3 separate regions of the Homo sapiens genome follow, and regions 1 and 3 are each linked to region 2. Evidence: promoter capture Hi-C in 16 types of primary human blood cells and fetal thymus (Javierre and others, 2016). All regions are on one chromosome and are shown on one strand. Each heading gives the region's core, a stretch centred on a gene start or on the middle of the fragment in contact. The rest is flanking DNA. Distances are from core to core; before and after follow the strand shown.

The links. Contacts are between HindIII fragments. The CHiCAGO score rates a contact against its expected background, and 5 or more counts as called.
Region 1: a contact is called between a fragment that was not itself captured here and the fragment with the promoter of CA5A in region 2, in 11 of 17 cell types (endothelial precursors, M2 macrophages, M0 macrophages and 8 more). The highest score is 18.5, in endothelial precursors.
Region 3: a contact is called between a fragment that was not itself captured here and the fragment with the promoter of CA5A in region 2, in 1 of 17 cell types (naive B cells). The highest score is 5.5, in naive B cells.

The regions. Positions count from the first base shown.
Region 1 is chr16:88,437,026-88,440,352 of GRCh38, forward strand. ZNF469 (zinc finger protein 469) reads left to right here. Exons shown (of 3, transcript NM_001367624.2): 3 at 1-3,327. The coding sequence ends at 2,307. Among named protein-coding and RNA genes, the nearest start is that of ZFPM1, 15 kb to the right of the region's middle. RefSeq lists a silencer at 425-574. The HindIII fragment of the contact is 5,448 bases long and covers 1-3,327 here.
Region 2 is chr16:87,934,756-87,938,124 of GRCh38, forward strand. CA5A (carbonic anhydrase 5A) reads right to left here and starts at 1,774. Exons shown (of 7, transcript NM_001739.2): 1 at 1,554-1,774. The coding sequence starts at 1,695. The HindIII fragment of the contact is 28,449 bases long and covers 1-3,369 here.
Region 3 is chr16:88,376,838-88,380,097 of GRCh38, forward strand. It overlaps a transcript of ZNF469 not described here. Among named protein-coding and RNA genes, the nearest start is that of ZNF469, 4.5 kb to the right of the region's middle. The HindIII fragment of the contact is 1,189 bases long and covers 789-1,977 here.

The sequences.
Region 1 (3,327 bases), core at 470-2,969, 500 kb after region 2:
GACGTCTGGATGTACAACGAGCACCTGCGTGAGCACGCGGTCCGCTTCGCCCGCAGGGGGCAGGCGCGGAGGTCCTTGGGGGACCTGCCCGGAGGCCTGGAGGGCAGCAGCGCTGTCGCCCACCTTCTGAACAGCATCACGGAACCCGCGCCCAAACACCACAGGGGCAAGCGCTCCGCCGGCAAGGCCGCCGGGAGCCCGGGAGACCCGTGGGGGCAAGAGGGAGAAGCCAAGAAAGACAGCCCGGGCGAGAGGGCGAAACCCCGGGCACGCAGCACCCCCAGCAACCCAGACGGGGCCGCGACCCCAGACAGCGCCTCTGCCACCGCCCTGGCTGACGCCGGCAGCCCGGGCCCCCCCAGGACGACCCCCAGCCCGTCCCCCGACCCCTGGGCCGGCGGGGAGCCCCTCCTGCAAGCCACCCCGGTGCACGAGGCCTGCAAGGACCCCTCCCGCGACTGCCACCACTGCGGGAAGCGCTTCCCCAAGCCCTTCAAGCTGCAGCGCCACCTGGCGGTGCACAGCCCGCAGCGCGTCTACCTGTGCCCCCGGTGCCCCCGGGTCTACCCCGAGCACGGGGAGCTGCTGGCACACCTGGGCGGGGCGCACGGGCTGCTGGAGCGGCCGGAGCTGCAGCACACGCCGCTGTATGCCTGCGAGCTCTGCGCCACGGTTATGCGCATCATCAAGAAGTCCTTCGCCTGCAGCTCCTGCAACTACACCTTCGCCAAGAAGGAGCAGTTCGACCGCCACATGAACAAGCACCTCAGGGGGGGGCGGCAGCCCTTCGCGTTCCGCGGCGTGCGGAGGCCGGGAGCGCCGGGACAGAAGGCCCGGGCCCTCGAGGGCACACTGCCCAGCAAACGGCGCAGGGTGGCCATGCCCGGCAGTGCCCCTGGGCCCGGCGAGGACAGGCCTCCTCCCCGGGGAAGCAGCCCCATCCTGAGTGAGGGCTCTCTCCCGGCCCTGCTCCACCTGTGTTCGGAGGTGGCTCCCAGCACCACCAAGGGATGGCCCGAGACCCTAGAGAGGCCTGTAGACCCCGTGACCCACCCGATCAGAGGTTGTGAGCTGCCATCCAACCACCAGGAGTGTCCCCCGCCGTCTCTGTCTCCCTTCCCAGCTGCCTTGGCTGATGGCAGAGGAGACTGCGCGCTGGACGGAGCCCTGGAGAGGCCAGAGAACGAGGCTTCCCCAGGCAGCCCCGGGCCTCTTCTCCAGCAAGCTCTCCCTCTGGGGGCATCTCTGCCGCGGCCGGGAGCCAGAGGCCAAGATGCGGAGGGAAAGAGGGCTCCTCTCGTGTTCTCAGGGAAACGCAGGGCCCCGGGTGCCCGTGGCAGGTGTGCCCCTGACCATTTCCAGGAAGACCACCTACTTCAGAAAGAGAAGGAGGTGTCCTCAAGCCACATGGTGTCTGAGGGGGGGCCCCGAGGCGCCTTCCACAAGGGCAGCGCCACCAAGCCTGCGGGCTGCCAGAGCTCATCAAAGGACAGGTCGGCAGCATCCACCCCCAGCAAAGCACTCAAGTTCCCAGTGCACCCAAGGAAGGCGGTGGGGAGCCTGGCACCCGGGGAGCTGGCCCGTGGCACAGAGAATGGGATGAAGCCCGCCACCCCCAAAGCCAAACCCGGCCCCAGCTCCCAGGGCAGTGGAAGCCCTCGCCCCGGCACCAAGACAGGAGGTGGCAGCCAGCCCCAGCCAGCCAGCGGGCAGCTCCAGAGCGAGACAGCCACCACCCCAGCCAAGCCCAGCTTCCCCAGCCGGAGCCCTGCACCAGAGAGGCTCCCCGCTCGAGCCCAAGCCAAGAGCTGCACCAAGGGGCCAAGGGAAGCTGGTGAGCAGGGGCCCCACGGGAGCCTAGGTCCCAAGGAGAAGGGAGAGAGCAGTACGAAGAGGAAAAAGGGCCAGGTCCCAGGGCCAGCCAGGAGTGAAAGTGTGGGGAGCTTCGGGAGAGCCCCCTCAGCCCCTGACAAGCCCCCCCGGACCCCTCGGAAGCAGGCAACTCCCAGCCGCGTGCTCCCGACCAAGCCCAAGCCCAACAGCCAGAACAAACCCAGGCCGCCACCATCAGAGCAGCGGAAGGCAGAGCCGGGCCACACACAGAGGAAGGACAGACTGGGCAAGGCCTTCCCCCAGGGGAGACCCCTGCTCAGGCCCCCCAAGAGGGGCACAGCTGTCCACGGTGCTGAACCTGCCGAGCCACACACCCACCGGACGGCCGAGGCCCAGAGTGACCTCCTCAGCCAGCTCTTCGGGCAGAGACTAACTGGCTTCAAAATCCCTTTAAAGAAAGATGCTTCCGAGTAATTTCTAGGAGCAAGAGCCTGGGACCGGAGCTGGGCGTTCCTGTCTCGGCCTGCCTCCTTGGCCAGCTCCGGCTCCCTGAGATGGTCCACTCTGTGGCCACTTGACTTCTTGTGCAACTGCTCAGGCCTTGATGTCAGAGCTGAGGTGGTGATGCTTTGAACAGGGCCCAGGTGGGCAGCATTCCCTTTCTTGCTGGAAGGCTGGGGGTGAAAGACGGGGCCACTGCAGCCCTTTTGAGACCACACAGCTGTTTTCTTGGTACCAAGTACTTGAAGAGACAGCAGCCCATCCCCTCAGCCCACACCCCTGCGCCCTGTGGGCACCGACACCACAGAAGCCAATGTTTGGAGATTTGCACAACCTCCCGTTCCCCCACATGGAGAAGGGAAGTAAGTTGAGGCAGCCGTGGGATGGTGGTAGGTTCCCTCTTAGTCTTGCTGCTGTTGCTGGAATTCCAAAGTGACCTTAGAAACCACGTGGGGGAAGGCAGTGCTCACTACTTAGAAGGGTTGCTTCTGAGCCGCCTGGTCCCCCAAGAGCACAACAGGCCTCCTCCCTCTGACCACAGGGTCATGCCTCCTCCCTCTGACCACAGGGTCATGCCAGCCTCCATTTGCTCTGCGGGAGAAAAGCCCATCTCTAGCACACCTTGACCCCAGGAACCGGGTTCCCGTATGGAACTGGGAAGAAACCGCCCCTGTGCCAGCTCCCGCGGGCCCTCCTCGTTCCCTCCCAGCCTCCATGGCCGCCCTCTAGAGCCTCCCTGCTGTACGGAGCTCTGGGCTCCGCCTATTTGCAATGTTACTCTGAAGTTTCTGGTGCTATTTTTGTGTTGTAATGTGAATACAGGCTTCCTTGATTTTTTTTTTTAATGGGGGTATTGGGTGGGACAGACGGGGTCAGGGAGGCCCCACCATGGCTTGTCGAGGGCACGGGCACCTGCATGGCGGCGCTCTCCCTGCCTCCCCTGCCGGGCTGCAAGCCTGAGGTCTGTGCTGCCAGACGGGGATGCTCAGGGCT
Region 2 (3,369 bases), core at 524-3,023:
TTGAGACCAGCCTGGCCAACATGGCGAAATCCTATCTCTACTAAAAATACAGAAATTAGTTGGGCGTGGTGGCACACGCCTGTAGTCCCAGCTACTTGGGAGGCTGAGTCAAGAGGATCGCTTGAACCCAGGAGGCAGAGGCTGCAGTGAGCCGAGATCGCACCACTGCACTCCAGTCCACAGGTGTGGACCCCAACAGGAGGAATGAGTGTAGCTCACTCAGAGTCTGGGGTGGGCCAGGCTTTCTACACGCATCGTGTCATCCTTCCATGGCCCTGGAGAGAAAGTCTGGCCACCCCCATCTCGAGATAAGGACACAGAGGCTTGGGGGTGAAGACCTGCCGAGGCTCCACCTCAGCAAGCGTCAGTCGGACTGCATGCCTGGGGTCTGGCTCCTAAGCCCATGCTCTTTCAATGGCCCAAACATGGAATGCATGGAAGATTTCAGTTAGAAGAGAACTTGGCAGCTGCCAAAGCAGGCTCTCATTCTACGGAGGAAGCACCTGAGACCCAGAAAGAGGAAGGGCCTCGTTCAAGGTCACAAGGCACTGACCATGAAGCCAGGAGGGGCTGGCACGGGGCAGTTTCTTGGCAGAGCTGGCTGAGTGGTTTATTTGTTACAGGTTTGCTTGAAAGCGTTCTCTGCCGAAGAGTTTAGGAGCGATCGTGACTGGTTAGTGCAGCCCATTCCGCCGGGTCTGGATGGTGAGTCGTGCCAGTGTGTCCCGTGCGAACACGGACTACCCGCCTGCTCCCAGCATCTTGCCCTCCCCAGGACCCCTGAAACGGAGGCTAAATGATTCACCCAAGGTCACCAAATACAAGAGAAACGGAGTGTGGCCAGGCGCGGTGGCTCACGCCTGTAATCCTAGCACTTTGGGAGGCCAAGGTGGGTGGATCACCTGAGGTCAGGAGTTCGAGACCAGCCTGGCCAACATGGTGAAACCCCATCTCTACCAAAATACAAAAAATTAGCTGGGTGCAGTGGCGGGTGCCTGTAGTCCCAGTTACTTTGGAGGCTGAGGCAGGAGAATCACTTGAACCTGGAGGGCAGAGGTTGCAGTGAGCCGAGATCATGCCATTGCACTCTAGCCTGGGCAAAAGAGCAAAACTTCATCAAAAAAAGAAAAAAGAGGGCCGGGCGCCGTGGCTGATGCCTGCAATCCCAGCACTTTGGGAGGCTGAGACAGGCGGATCGCGAGGTTAGGAGTTCGAGACCAACCTGGCTAACACAGTGAAACCCTGTCTCTACTAAAAATACGAAAAATTAGCCAGGAGTGGTGGCATGCACCTATAGTCCCAGCTACTCAGGAAGCTGAGGCAGGAGAATCGCTTGAACCCGGGAAGTGGAGGTTGTGGTGAGCTGAGATCACGCCACTGTACTCCAGCCTGGGCCACAGAGCGAGACGCCATCTTAAAAAAAAAAAAAAAAAAACGGAGTGGAAATCTGAACCCATCTGGCTCGGGACGGTCTCTCCTCTCTCCTCTCGAAAGACCCCATCAGCTAAGACAAGGATCCAGTCGCATCTTAGGAAATTTGAGGCTCTACTTACAAGTGTTATTGCTGGTTTGCCATGCACAGGAACGCTGAGAACACCATCGCCCTGGCCTCATCGAACGACTCCAGAGAGGGGCCCACATCTGCTCAACCAAGAAGGAGAAAGCTGAGGTCTTCCAAGTGTTCCTCCCCAACATCTTGGGTCTGTTCCCACTGACTCCAGTCTGAAGAGGGTGATGTTCCCTGCTGTCTGTTCTCACTTTGATCAGGACCACTGTGGACTGGCGTGTACCCACCTCTTTTTGTAGAAACTCATCCCAACCCCTGAGCCTAATGGTTAAAGTTCAACCCATGCCTTTCCCAACAGGGTGGGTCCACAGGGATTAGTGGCCTCTGCTGGGGACAGGCCACTCAGGTCACTGGGCTTTGATCTGGCAAACAGGAGCACAAGTCTGCCAGGGAGCTAGAAAAACTGTACGGTGGGGCTGCGTGAGCACCAGGGGATTACGCGGGAGGCGGGGGCGAGTGGATGAGAGCAGAGTCCCTGTTTCTTTCATGGGGTTGACCGTGTGGTTTGGGGCTCCGGGACACTCAATACCAGGCACAAAGCCATGGTGTGCATGTGAGGAGGGACTGGCAGGCAGGCTCAGAAGTACAGGAATGGGACTGGCCAAAGCGCTGCTGGGTAGACAGGCCAGGGGAGCAGGGAGCTTCTGTCCACCCACCAGGGCTCCTGAAGTCATGGAGTCCTTGCTTGCCTTAAAATAGGTGCGATTTGATTCATTCATCCTCCCCGGAAGCAAGATGCCCTGTGGCTTCGGACACTTCCAGGTCATGCCTGCTGTCTTGGCATAAACATTAACAGGGCCACCTTTCTTTCTTTCCTTTTCTTTTTTTTTTTAGACAGAGTTTCACTTCTGTTGCCCAGGCTAGAGTGCAATGGCGTGATCTCGGCTCACTGCTACCTCTGCCTCCCAGGTTCAAGCAATTCTCCTGCCTCAGCCTCCTGAGTAGCTGGGATTACAGGCGCCCACCACCATGCCCAGCTAATTTTTTGTATTTTTAGTAGAGATGGGGTTTCACCACGTTGGCCAGGCTGGTGTTGAACTCCTGACCTCAGGTGATCTGCCTGCCTCGGCCTCCCAAAGTGCTGGGATTACAAGTGTGAGCCACTACGCCCAGCCTCTTTTCTTCGTTTCTTTTCTTTTCTTTCTTTCTTTTTTTGAGATGGAGTCTCGCTCTGTTGCCCAGGCTGGAGTGCAATGGCGTGATCCTGCCTCACTGCAACCTTTGCCTCCCAGGTTTAAGCAATTCTCCTGTCTCAGCCTCCTGAGTAGCTGGGATTATAGGCACACACCACCACAACGGCCAATTTTTTGTATTTTTAGTAGAGACGGGGTTTCACTGTGTTCCCCAAGCTGGTCTCGAACTCCTGAGCTCAGGCAATCCACCCACCTCGGCCTCCTAAAGTGCTAGGATTACAGGCATGAGCCACTGCGTCCAGCCTCTTTTCTTTTCTTTCTTTCTTTCTTTCTTTCTTTCTTTCTTTTTTTTTTTTTTTTTGAGGTGAGGTCTTGCTCTGTCACCCAAGGTGGAGTGCGGTGGTGCCATCATGGCTCACTGCAGTCTCAATCACCCAGGCTCAAGTGATCCTCCCTCCTCAGCCTCCCAAGTAGCTGGGACTATAGGTGCATGCCATTATGTCCAGCTAATTTTAAAAATTATTTGTAGAGGCAGGTTCTCGCCATGTTGCCCAGGCTGGTCTTGAACTCCTGGGCTCAAGCAATCCTCCCAGAGTGGCCTCCCAAAGTGCTCGGATTACAGGCATGAGCCACTGCCCCTGGCCTGGTACCTCCCTTCATGCCCAGGGT
Region 3 (3,260 bases), core at 133-2,632, 440 kb after region 2:
TAGGGCAGCCAGGAAGTGCAGGGCACAGGTGTGGTGTGTGCCCAGCCCAGACGCCAGGCCTCCTCCCAGCGTGCCCCGAGGCCCCCGAGGGCCCAGCCTCCTACTGGGTAAAGCAGGGAGGACGGCTCTGCCCGCTCATGCCGCCGGGAGGGCCAGAGGCACCAGAAGGCCAGGCCCCAGCGCAGGCTGGCTCTCAGCTGGGTCCCTTCAGCATCTCCCAGGAGGGACTTGCCAGAGCTGGAGGCAGAGATGGGACTCGACCCAGAGCCCACAGTTAGCCACCACTCCTGTGTCTTCTGCACACCAGGCAGGCCACAGGAGTCTTCCCAATGGGGCAGGGGCACAGACCGTGTGTCCAAAAGCAGCCCTGCTCAGAAGGCAGGAGCCGGGGTGGTGCAGGGCAGGGGGACTTCCCAGGGGAGGGGCGTTGCTGCTCAGAGCCTCACAGAGGGTGGGCAAGGTGGATCCTGCATGCCCAGACCCTCTGCCGACCCATGGGCCCGGTGGCTTCCGGCTACTCTCCCGCTGGGCCCGCCACCCATGGCAGCACGTGAATGTGTGAGCCGGTGTGTATGGCCTGCAGTGGGGGTGTGTGCCTGTGCCCCTGTGCAGGACGCCCTCGAGGCCACCCCTGTCCACCCCAGCTTTTTGCTCTCGACTGGGGCCATTCAGATGATGGGGCAGAAACGCTTGGGCCGTAGGCATCTGAGTCACGCGCCACCATCCGTCTGGAATGTCTCCTTGGACCGGGCTCAGCCGGGCTCCAGGCCCTGACACTCCCTCCCTCAAGCTTCCCTCTGTCCTTCCTCCCTTCCTCACTCCCCATCCTCCCTCCTCTATCTCCCTCCTCCAGCCCTCCCTCCTCTCTCCCACTCACTTTCCAAAGCCTTCCCCCTGTCCCAGCTGGCATCCTGTACCCACACAGGTCCTCAGGGCGCGGACCACGCCACCCCTCAAGCGCTGGCCTGCAGGTGCTGTGCTCTGTAGATGAAGATGTATTCATCCCCACTTTCGTATTCTAGAGCTTGTTGTTGTTGTTGTTGTTTGATGCCAGGAAAAAAAAATGGTTTTTGAGCCGAGCCCTGGCCAGGTGCCTAGGGCAGCACAGGGGTCACCACAGCGTGAGAGGAAGCCTGACCCAGGGACGGACACCTGCATCCTCAAGGACCCCAAGTCCAAAGAGCCACCCACTCCTCCTACCTTGCACATACCTGTTATGTCCAACTGTCCTAGACGCCCCAAGATCCCCCCAGTTCACCGCCAGGGAGTGGTGAGGCCGCAGCACCGTAGCCTCTAGGGGCCAGCTCTGCCCTCCTGACAGGTGGGCGCCATGATGTCATCTCCCAGATGAGCAAGTGGAAACTCAGAGAGGCCGCTGACTCACCCAGGCACACACGGCGGGCAGGGAGCAGGGGGCACCGGGGCCGGGCCTGTTTGTGCCCTTTTCTCTGCAGCATCCAGACCCAAATTGAGGGTCTACTCAGCAAAGTCCACGGGTACTGATTGTGTTCCAGAAATCCCAGGCTGGTAAAATAACTAGCGCCATATCAGCCAGGTCGCACGTTCTTGGAGAGGCCCCGTGATCGCTGTCCTCTGTGCTTGCACGCATCGTAACGGGGAGAGGACACACAAGCCCCTGCTCACCTCCTGCTGCACCCAGGAGCCGTCCTCAGGGAGGTGGGAGCTCATCAGAGGCCGTCCAGATGGGCTTCCTGCCCCATAGGGAGCGCCGAGTCTGCACCTCTGCCCGGCTGCTCACAGACCCCTGTATGTTGTGCAGACCCCAATGCTCGGGGCCCCCAAAGCTGCTCTCCCTTCCACTCCCACCCTGAACTAGGGAGAGGGTGGCAGCAGTCAGCACCTGGGACAGGCTCGACCACTAACTGCCACATCTTTGGGATGGGCTCTTTGCATCCTCCAGCCTCAGCTTCCCCTATCTAGCAAATGGGATTAAAGAGCCCATGAGATCACAGGTGAAGCTTGCTTTGAAAACTCCCAGAGTGTTTAAACGTCCCACATGCCACATCTCGGCCACAGGTCTGGTCCTCGCTCGGAGGTCTCCTCTCTCGAGAGCCCATCTGGGGCAGGCGTGGGCCCACACGTGGCAGGGGTGCGGCCTTGCTCTCAAGGTGCATGGTTGTCAGGATGGACGGGTGTCCACACACCCAGGCCATCAGCGCTGACCTCGAGTGCCAATGGCAATTGCCCTTGGAATCTGTCGGAGGCTTCTCGTGCCTCCCCCTGCATGGCGCTGGTTACTCGGTTTCATTTTTACATCAGGCAAAAGTCCAGGGGGTGACTCGTGTGAGCTGGCCCTCCTGACCGTCTACTGGGACCCAGGAAACCTCGCCCCCCGAGGTTGATCAGTAGCAGGCCTGGAGCTCTGGGCAGCATGTGGGCTTGGCCAGGGCATGAGACCTGGCTCAGTGGCTGTGGGTAAGTCTAGTCAGCAGCCTGCTGGGCCAGTTTCCTCCTGGAAAGCAGGGGCTAGGACCACCCGGGAGCCTTCCAGCTCTGCTGAGCTCACAGACACAGGGGACCTTCCCAGCCCCTGCTCCCTGCAGAGCACCCCATCAGGCAACTCCTTCCAGGAGGGGTGGACGTGGCCCTCCTTTTCAGCTCTCTGATGGCTTTGAGGGCTATGAAGAGGGGGAAGAGGCGCTGCCAGGGCCAGGCCAGGGGAGGGACGGGAATCAGGAGGCCAAGCCTGGAGCAAAGCTGCCCCCAGGAGGGTGCTGATACCAGGATTCTCACCTCCCGCCATTGACACCTGGGGCAGGATGATTCCTGTGCACTGGGGAGGCGTGGCAGCAGCCCCTGCCCCCCAGCTAGATGCCAGAGGTAGCTCCCAGTTGTAACAGTCCAAAGTGACTCCTGATGCTGCCACTGGGTTAGTCAAAGCAGGTGGGTGTGGAACATGGGGACAAGGCAAGGGGTGGACGGTGGCTCTGGGACAGGGGAGGTGTGCCGCGGGCCTTGGCCAGGTTGCTAGTCCTCCCTGTGAAAGGGAAGAGGCAGTCCCACCTCGCGGGGTTGTCAGAGTCCTTCACACAGTGACTGGCCCGGAGTGGGTACAGGGTCATCCCCTGTTGTCACCATGCTTGTGAGCATGGACTCTGAGTGAGGGCTTCTGTCATTTCTCACGCCCAGGCGGCATTCAGGTGCCCCAGGGCTAGGAAAAGAACTTGTGTGCATGCATACACATGCAGTCACACACACACATACTCACACACAGACACGCACTCACACACACAAATGCA